Regions from separate parts of the Homo sapiens genome. Here region 1 is linked to region 2. Evidence: promoter capture Hi-C in 16 types of primary human blood cells and fetal thymus (Javierre and others, 2016). All regions are on one chromosome and are shown on one strand. Each heading gives the region's core, a stretch centred on a gene start or on the middle of the fragment in contact. The rest is flanking DNA. Distances are from core to core; before and after follow the strand shown.

What was found. Contacts are between HindIII fragments. The CHiCAGO score rates a contact against its expected background, and 5 or more counts as called.
Region 1: a fragment that was not itself captured here is called in contact with the fragment with the promoter of COL4A1 in region 2 in 1 of 17 cell types (monocytes); the score reaches 5.5 in monocytes.

What each region holds. Positions count from the first base shown.
Region 1 is chr13:109,035,570-109,040,692 of GRCh38, forward strand. The region is part of intron 23 of MYO16 (myosin XVI); the gene reads left to right. Among named protein-coding and RNA genes, the nearest start is that of MYO16-AS2, 64 kb to the right of the region's middle. The HindIII fragment of the contact is 1,531 bases long and covers 3,097-4,627 here.
Region 2 is chr13:110,303,204-110,308,410 of GRCh38, forward strand. It overlaps COL4A1 (collagen type IV alpha 1 chain), which reads right to left and starts at 3,954. Exons shown (of 52, transcript NM_001845.6): 1 at 3,741-3,954. The coding sequence starts at 3,824. It overlaps COL4A2 (collagen type IV alpha 2 chain), which reads left to right and starts at 4,081. Exons shown (of 48, transcript NM_001846.4): 1 at 4,081-4,325; 2 at 4,657-4,744; 3 at 4,866-4,920. The coding sequence starts at 4,701. RefSeq lists enhancers at 3,710-4,543, 4,544-5,207. The HindIII fragment of the contact is 7,261 bases long and covers 1-5,067 here.

The DNA of each region.
Region 1 (5,123 bases), core at 2,612-5,111, 1.3 Mb before region 2:
GCTACTCAGGAGGCTGAGGCAGGAGAATCGCCTGAACCTGGGAGGCAGAGGTTGCAGTGAGCAGAGATCATGCTACTGCACTCCAGCGCGGGTGACAAAGTGAGACTCTGCTTCAAAAAAATTAATTAAATAAAATAAAATGCACTGTGTACAGTTACTTCCTGCAAACCCTGCTCCCTTGCTCCTTTCTCACCTGCCAGCACCACATAGAAGGACTGAGTTAACAGAGCATCCTAAGCTCCTAGTAGCTGGAGCTGTGATTCTCATACGTAACGTGCATCCAACTTAACTGGGGAGCAAGTTTAAAATGCAGCTTCCTGGATTTCTCTCCAATAAATAATGACTAAAGAGGTCTGGGGTGAAGTTGAAAGCATTTGCATTTTTATTAAACACCAGAGGACATTCTCCTTTAGGGAATCTGGAAAGCACATTTTGACAGACACTAAAATTATTAGCCACATAGTAGGTGCTCACATTTCACAGTTTTGCATTATTCTCTCACTCGGTACAAGGCACAGCGAGAAAGGAGGCTGCAGACATAAAGAACTCACTATTCCCCAGCTCCAGCCAACCCCTGGACCTTCTTTAACAAGGTGAAGTAAGCCAATTGCTCTTGCTTTCAGTTCAGGGAATTAAAATCCAGTGTTGGTGGATAGAGCTATTTCTGTGGCGTTCTCTTGCCTTTGGATTTCAGTTTCCTTGGTGATTAGCCAAGCATGAGCCTGACACCCTTCAGTTAGGAAGAAAATCCATGTGGTTTGGCACTTTGTAACTTTTGTTCTCTTTGTGGAGCCAGGAAACTCAGTGTCTTGATGAATTTTGAGTCACAGACATGGTGAAAGTTTTATACCCCTTTTTTCATATATAGATGACATAATTTATCTTTTAATTGTATTTATTGCAGTGCTGGAGTGTTACAGCAAGTACTTCCAAAAAAGCCGCATACTGTCACTGCTCTCAAGTTTATATTGCACCCCTCATTTGGCATCCACACTGGAGCATTTAAATGAGGATCGCTAACTGCCGCAGCATAAGCAAAATGCTAAGTTTTCTTTTGAGTTATTTTATTGAACAGAATCATTCCAAAGGAAATTTTGAATACATGACAATTTCCTTAAAGATCCATATTGAGTCGCATGAATATAAATTTCTCTATTACATGCATGAGAGACGCTGCCATGTACTGCATGAATCCTGTCTTCCAATCTTGAGAAGGAAAAATAAATACATAAAGCCTGAAGATCAGTTATGTAAAGAGAGTGGGGAAAAGGAAGGCATAAACCCAGCCTCTATCTTTGGCTACTTTCATGCTTTTCTCCTTTCATCCCACAAATAATAAACCAAAAAAGATGAGCAAGGCCCTGAGCCAAGCAGCTGCCCTGAGTGACCCTGGAGAGCCTTCGACCTAAAATCTTCTCTCTGCTGCTCCAGCAGCACCAACCTGCTCTCCCCAGTGGCACAGCAGAGAGCAGACCTTTGTGTGTCAGCAGACCTGACACTCCAGACTCAAAAAGCTCTAGGTGAATTCTAATACAGGCTGAGTTTCTCCTTAGTGCTTTTTCTTTCCTAGAAATGCTTCCATCTCACTAGGCTCTGAGGCTCACTTTCCTTTGAATTGCCCGGGAGGCCACTGGCCTTGTCTGCACTGTTGTGCAGCTTTTCTTTGTTTCTTCTCTATGCGAAGTTATTGCCCCTTCCTGGAGCTGGAGGCGGCGGCCCTCAGTGAAGTCCAGGTGCTGCGTATAGATGCTGATGAGTTTAATGGGCTCTCCTTTCTAGGGAGACTTCTTTTCTTAGGAAGCATTTCCTTCATAAGTTGTCAATCAGTGAATTTCACCTGAGACAATTATGGGTCTAGAATGAGAAGCTTTTTATTGGGAGGCAGCCTATTTAGCAGCCTCAAGACAGATTACCTAGGTAATGCCATGAGTCCTTCTCAAGTAAGTCATGTATAAAACTCTGGAAAACGGCAAAGAAGAAGGTACAGGTGAGCATTAGAAACATCAATTAGGGATATTCATGAGAAAACTATAGTAAAAACTATGCAAAGGTAGGTAGGAACAAGCCTTTTTATTTATCTCCAAAGCCACCGAGAGACACACAGAGAGAGAGAGAGAAAGAATGGGAGAGATAGGAAGAAAGAGCTAGAGAGAGAGGTCAGCATTACTGCCTATGTGTTGTAGATGAGAAGCCTTGGAAACTCAGTAACTTGCCCTGGTTATCCAGGCCCTGGGGCTTGTTGAAGCTGGACTCCAGAAGGTATGTCACTGAGCAAGGCCAATGCACTTTTGACAACAGCTTGATGCCTCTCAGAGACTTGGGCCTAGAAAGGCAGAGTTGGCCTTGGTTGCTGGAGAAGCTGGAAAGGAGTTTATTGAAAGGAAAAGCAGCAGTGATGGCAAGGGAGGAATCTGTGAGTAGGGTAGAGGAAAGTAGGGAGTACAATGGGGAAAATGGGAAAATGCTGTAAAGCGAAGGATTTAATTAGGCAAAATGTACATATTTCTGTAGACAGTGAGGATTTATCAGGGATCCAACATGATCGATCATCAAGTTAGATATTTTTTTTCCATTTCCCTCTTTTCTTCAGAATTAACTCCCAGGTTGTGATGATTAACTTATGTGTCGGTTTCACTGGGCCATGGGATGCCCAGATGGCTGCTTGAACATCATTTCTGAGGGTGTCTTCGAGGTGTTTTGGGAAGAGATTAGCATTTGATCAGTAGACTGATTAAGCTGTTGCCCTCGCTAGCTTCAAGTGGGTGGGTGGGCACCACCTAATCCCTTGAGGGCCTGAATAGTGCAAAAGAGAGGAAGGTTGAAATCTCTCTGCTTGACTGCTTGAGCTACAATATCAATCTCCTGCCCTTGGTACTCCTGGATTTCGGGCCCTCTGACTTAGACTGGAATCTACACTATTGGCTCTCTGGCTGTCAGGCTTTCGAACTACCTTGTCGACTTTCCTGGGTCTCCAGCTTGCAGATGGCAGATTGTGGGACTTCTCAGCCCCCATAATTATGTGAGCCAATAACTCAGACTATATATATTATACTATACTACTGGTTCTATTCATTTGGAGAACCCTGATGAATACAAAGCTTTTGTATTCATTTAAGACAAAAAGAAAACATTCGGGCTGTCTTAGTCCAGATTATACTTTTTTTTTAGAATCAAATTTGTTATATTTTTTAAATCAAAATTTTAAAGAATCTTTTTAGTTATATTTATTGAAATTACAGTTTTCCTTTTAGTGTGCACAATTTTTCAATGCATAGGTTTATTTAGGATCTTATTACTGTGCTAAGATTCTAAATGGATATTTTTCTCCTAGCTCCCTGCCACTGTGATGATATCAAAGGAGGCTTGGTAGGGGGTTAGGACTTCCAGCACTGTGCAGAGATAATACCCCACTACCCAATTTATGAAGGCTATGTAGGAAGCAGTAAAGAAGTGTTTCAGCCCATTCCACTGCTCATCCCACAGCCAGGGAAGAATGACTGGAGGCTTAGTGGAGAGGTAGAGCCTTTATCTTCACCCAGAAATAATGAGGATTCATTCTTCTTGCATATCAGAGGAGGCTGGGTAGGGACCTAGACATCTACTCTGACAAGGCAGTAGTGAGGCTGTGCCTTCCTTCTCTTGCCAAGTGCTGGAAGGAGCCAGCTAGACAGAAAGTGATGCTGGAAACTTCAACACCCTCCTCTCAACAATTGGTAAAACAATGACATAGGCAATCGGCAAGGGTGCAGGAGAACTGAACAACACCATCACCAATAGGATCTAGTCAATATTTATAAACACATCCACCAGCAAAAGCAGAACTCATATTCTTTTCGAGTACCCATGGGACATGTGTCCAGATGGACTATCTGCTCGGCCGTAAAGCAAAACTAAGCAAACTCAAAAGAATTGAAATTATACAGAGTAGGTTTGCCTACCACAATGGAATCAACCCAGAAATCAATAACGGGAAGAAAACAGCCAAATCTCTGTATACTTGGAAACTTAACAGTGCCCTTCCAAATAATCCATGGATAAAAGGGGAAATCGTGACAGAATTAAAAATAATATGCTGAACCTAATGAAAATGAAAGTACAACATGTCAAACTTGTGTGGCACAGCTAAAATAGTATTGAATGAGAAATGTATATCACTAAATGCGTACGTTAGAAAATAGGGAAAATCTCAAACCAATAATCTAAGCTCCCATCTCAGGAACGTAGGAGCAAAATAAACCACAGTAAGCAAATGGAAACCGATGACAAAAAAGCAGAAATCAATGGAATTAGAAAAAAAGGAGAAAATCAATGAAACAAAGAGCTGGTTCTTTGAAAACACCAATAAAAATTATAAACCTATAATATGAGTGACAAAGAGAAAATAGAAAATACATAAATAGCCAATATCAGTAATAAAACAAGGAAAATCATTATAGGCCCTGTAGACATCAAAAAGATACAAAGGGAATATTACAAACAGCTCTCACACATAAATTCTATGACTTCGATGAATGGATCAATTCCTCAAAAAACACAAGCTACTTCAATTCACCCAATATGAAATAGACAATTTGAATAGCACCATAACTTTTAAGAAATGAATTTGTAATTTAAAGTCTCTCAAAAAAGCTTCCTATTCCAGATTGTTTCACTGGAGAATTCTACCAAATGTTTTAAGGAAAATTAAAGCCAACTTTACACAATCTTTTCTAGAAAATAGAAAAGAATACTCTCTAATTCATTTGATAAAGCAAGTATTATCCTAACACCAAAACCACACAGACAGTAGCATACACACACACACACACACACACACAGAGAGAGAGAGAGAGAGAGAGAGAGAGAGAAAATTAAAAACAAAAAACATCCCTCATGAATATAGGTGAAAAAATATGTTTAATATATTAGCAGATAGAACTTAGCAATATATAAAAAGAACGGTTTTGGTTTTTGTTTTCTTTTTCTGGGGATGCACAGCTGATTCAATATCTCAAAATCTATCAAGGTAATCAATCACATCAACAGGTCAAAGAAGAAAAAAATACATGATTATATCACAGGATGAAGAAAAAGCATTTGATAAAATTTAACATCCAGTCATGATAAAAATCAACTCCCAGACA
Region 2 (5,207 bases), core at 2,704-5,203:
CCAAGTAAGGGTAGGTTTTCTGGGTCAGTTCCTAAAGGCACTCCTGACTAGAATCAGTCATCCATGCCGCAACTTTCCAAACATCCCCTGCCTGCCTACCTGCCACCTCCGAGAAAAGGGACAGGACCACATACTGGGGCCTCAGTTGGAGCTGGGAGCTCTTTTTTAACACTGGTCTCCTAAACCCTGCCCTTCCAATTCTTTCCACCCCTCTGAGAGCAAAGTTCAGCCACCAAGATTGTTAATCACAGAAACAATGACATTTTGGTATCTCAAAGGAGCAAACTTGAAGGTCATCTTTCAGTGCAAAGACCCTTAGACTTGAGAGCAGACAGGCAGAATGACCATGTCTTCTGTGTATAGTACACCATCACAGTGCACATGGAAATGACATGCTGGTGTATAGTTCCTATTTCTCCCTCATATTTCAGAGGCGGAAGCCCCTCCCAGAAGTTTCCTCTGAGTTCCCCAAAGCTGGATTCAGTGTTCCTATAGCCCTTCGATTCCCCTGATTGTGACATTTACCAGCCTGACTTGGATTCGTCTGTTTCTTTTCCAATATTTCTCACCTGACCTTCCTGAGGACAGAGAGTGGGGGTGAGTCCCTGCCGCATGGCCAGCACCTGGCAAGGTCATGGCAGGAAGGAGGTGTTCCCGATGTGTGTGTGGAATGAAGGAAGGCACAAACGGGTCCGTGTGAGGAAGGGACAGACCTGCCAGGGAAACTGAGGTATAGAGTTTGATGAGTACCCCCAAATCATCTGCTTAAAAGCAGGTATAAAATGTAAGGTCCTCTGGTGCCTAAAGCACACTCATCCTGTGTACACGTGACTATTAATAATATATAGCATTGATAATTCTGTGAATCTAGTCAGAGTACATGAACATTGTGTCTTCTGGTTGGTCTTAAAGTTATGTCCCTTCACCCTAGTCCAATTCCATCTATTAATATAAAGAGCTTGCAGATATAAGGAATAGCTTCACCAATATCACTCCTGAGATCCTGGGCGATGCTGCTCTTGTTGGGACTGATTCAGAAACCAGCCTTCTCTTCTAAACTACATTTCCAGTAGAACATGGTCCATACTTATATGGGAATGAAATCTCACTTAGTTTGAACTCTAGGTCATTCAGTCCCAGAGGTGGTGACTAATGGTCAGGAGATGACAGTATTGCTGGACAAGCATCACCACACTGAGGGGAAAGTTCACGTTTCTAATCCTGAGAAATAATCTGTTAAGAAGCATCACACAGAACCAGCTAGAGGGGAGTGTGAAAGCTGCTGCAGGAAGGGTTCATTCCGCCCAGTGCAACTGAGTGACTAAGAGTAGAGGGTGCTCACAATCAGAACACTGCTGGCACGTGTTTGTCTGGAGCCTGCAAGCTATTCCTCCTTTCTTGCTGAAGAAAAGTGGAGGAAGGGAGGAGCGGGGAGTAGAGTGGTAGGTTCAGCGTGGGATAAAATCAATGGTTTAGAAAATCCACCCATGAGTACGTAAACAATATGACCATAGCAGATACAGCAAATACAAAATTAAACAGCCTTTCATGAAGAAAAAACAATAAGGGCAATTCATGCCTGGCACACAGCAGGTGATGTCTGGATGTACAAATGCAGGTGAAGTGTGATTCAGACAGTGCAAAGGAGAGGTAAGCCAACAGTCACTTCCACTGGCTTCTGAATGAGGATCTGATCAAATCCACAGCATCTTATCATTCAAAATGTGCTTTTAAATTATGTTTTGCTTGGATCAGTATTGAAGCTATTTCAGTGTTATGGTACATCTAACAGCTGATTTTGGAAGGAGGTAAGCCAAAATGTTATTGATGGCATGAAAAGTGAGACAAATTTTAAAATTAGGCAGATTCAGTTTTTAAGTGATTTTCTTGTATACCCATACATCATCTGCACATTAAGCACTTTTCTCTAATTAAGCCAGGGAAAATACAGAGTAATGATAATATCTGTGAGGTCAGCTGTGATCAGAAGTGCCCACAGGCTGCATCTCTTAAAAACAGTCCATGGCACCTCAAGGGACACTGCAAAGACAGTGGCCGGGAATGTAATTGAGCTTTAGGAAATGATTAAAGGGAAGTAAAATCATCTCCAACTCAACATTAATGCGTTTGATTTCCCGGGTGAGAACAGGATTTGCGTAACTGAGTGGTTCTTTCTTTCTACAGTCCTGGATGTTTGGAAAGCCAGCTCTTACAGTTAGCTTTCTTTGCTTTGCTAACATTATCCATCAGAAAATCGAAATGCAAACAGCTCCTATTTCCCAATGAAGAACTTTCTCTGATTTACCTTACCATCATCAGGCTTCACCATCTCACCTTGGAAGCGTTCAATCTTTTGGTCAATATTTCTAGACCAAAATAAAGTGCTCTCAAGCCTGTTCTTTGGAAAGTATTTTGTCATCATTACCAAAGAGTGTTTAAATAACTGGCTATGAAGTTTGGGGAGACTGGGCTGGGAGGTACAATCTGAAGTTAATTGCTGATGTAATCATTAGTCCTTTCAATACCCAGTGGAGAAGCTGCCTCCAGGGAGATAAGCTCTCAATTAGGAGACGTGTGTGTATATCACCAGTTCTCTCTGGCATGTAACAGTTAACAATTTCTATACAGTTAAGTGGATTTAGTGAGTATCATTCTTCCAGGAGAGAAGTAAAATTTTTTTTTAAAGAGGAAAACAAAGAACAAGATTAAGAACAGTAAAAGAATAAGTATGGAAAATCTGGTAAGTAGCAAAAATCATTTTTAAGCATTTGAGGGAGAAACTGCAAAATCTGTTCAGAAGCCACACCTTCCGGCCTGTGGGACTGCATGGCTGTGACACTGAGCAACAGCTGAAGTCTTTATTCTCTCGGAGGGGAAGGAAAAAAGGAAACAACAGTCAGTCCAGGCTTGTCCACGGCTGGAAGCCTCGACTCCTGCAAACCTCCTGCAAACCGATCTCCCAGATCCTTTCTGGGCAAGCACATAACCAAAGGAAATGAAAACTAGAAAAACAATTTGTGCATGGAACAATGACATGGAGTTTCACTTTGGTTTCATGCTCAAATATGAATGTGGTTATAATTTTTTAAAATATATATTAATAGAAGGCAACGAGTTGAGGATGGTGGCTTCTTCAAGCCGGGCGTCCAGAAGAGCCCCACTTCTGCCTTGGAGCGCGCCTTAGGCAGCAGTCGTGGGAAAGCTCAGATACAGCTGTTTCCAGGCAAAGGGCCCAGAGCTTTTCAGCCTCAGCCACCAGGGTCTCCAGACAAGGAGAAATACGCCCAAAGCTGCTCCCAGGGGCTAGGAGCTCGGAGCTCCCAGTGTGGGTCTCTGAGCAGCGCGGGGTGGGCGCTCCCGGCCCTCCAGCCCCCAACTCCCTCGCGCACCCGGGACGGGTGAAGGCGCCCAGCTGCCGAGCATACCCGCGACGCGGGTTCAAATCCCGCCGGCTCCCAGGCACCCTCACCCCGCCACAGCGCGGGCTGTTTCTCCTCCCTTCCCCGGAGGAATTCCTTAACTCTCCAGTACCCATACCATAACAAAGGAGGCTCGGTCCACCAATGCGCGATCGTAGCCTACAGGGACCCCCAACGAACCCCGGCCCAGAGAATGCACCTGGCCGTGCCACGCGCGACCCCCGAGGGGCAGGCGGACGGGTCCAGGCGCGGACAAAGGGGCCTCTCGGGGCGCCCAAGCTCGGGGCGGGACGCCGGGAGCGGAGCTGGCCGGGAACTCACCTTCGCAGCGGCCCGGCTGTGCTCCTCGTGGAGCAGAAGGGCGGCGGGCAGCAGCAGCAGCCAGACGCTGAGCCGGGGCCCCATGGTGGCGCGCCCGAGGCGGCGAGGGACGGCTGCCCGGCGTGCGGGGGCCGCGGCGGACAGCTAGCTCTCGGAAGGCCGGACTTCCAGCGCTACGCACCGTCCCGGGTGCGGCGGCTCCAAGCGGAGACCTGAGCGCGGCGGGCCGAGCTCCCCAATTTGTTGGCGCTGCCCCCTCCCCCCCGGCGGTGCGCGGGCGGCGCCTCAAAGGGGAGGACCCTGCGGCGCGGGTAAGAGGCGGCGGGAGCGCGCGGCCCGGGAGTGTGGCTGCAGTGCGCCGGGACACCAGGGCTCCGCGCTCCGCACTCAAGAGGCTCCCGCGTCCCAACCCCTCGCGCCCGCGCGTTCGCGGATCCAGGCCGAGGACCGAAAGGGGCCGCCCGAGCCCCCGGGGCCGGCGCCCAGAGAGCCCAGCAAGGCCGGCCGCCCTGCCGGTGTGCCGCCGGCGGGTGCTTCTGGAAGGGCCAATGCGTTCGGGCAGCAGCCCCTGAAGCCGAGCCCGAGGTGAGAGCGACCCCCGAGCGGCGCCCAGACCCTGGCCCGAGAGCACCGACTTGGAGCGCCTTGTGCAGGCTAGGGCTGCACGCTCTCCTGCTTGGGAGTAGAAAGGGGGAGGGTGGGAGAGCGAAGACCGAGCTCCTCGGCCAAGGAGCACCCACAGGGGCCTAACGGGAGGCTCTCCTTCTTTCCGGGTCGTGGGGGGGACGGCCCTCCGGTCACCCCTGCATGCGGGCCGCGCACCGCGCTGTCCCCGCGTCTCGCGGACCGAGACCGGCGGTGAGGATGGGCTGCCTCCCTCATCCTGCGCTAAACTCGCTTTGTCTGTCGCCTCTAGGCTAAGTGGGACTGACCGGGGCCCAGAGTGGACGAACCGCCAGCATGGGGAGAGACCAGCGCGCGGTGGCCGGCCCTGCCCTACGGCGGTAAGCGACTTTCTGCCTGGTCCCCGTGGGTCACGCGCGCATGGACCCTTCGGTGTAACTCTCGGGGACTGACAAGCCGGGCCCGCACGTTCACGTCTCTCTTCCTCCCTTTCCCATGCAGGTGGCTGCTGCTGGGGACAGTGACCGTGGGGTTCCTCGCCCAGAGCGTCTTGGCGGTAAGTCCTGGCTCCCGCGCTTGGACTTGCGCGCCCGAGAGTGGTTGGGACGTTTGAGTGGCCTTGGAGAAGGCAGCTCGTCCGTGCGCTCCCGAGTGTGTGTGTGCGTGTGGATGTTCGCCAGGCTGCCCACCAAGGTTCTGAGAAAGCTTGCTCTTCCCTCATCATGCTTTCCACCTTTCCTTCCCCTTGGGTTCCCAGCGTCAATCCTGTGTTTTGCAAGCGTCGGCCTTTCACGGGAACTGGGAACTTAAAATGTAGCCTGAGGCACCGTTTTCGTTGCTTTG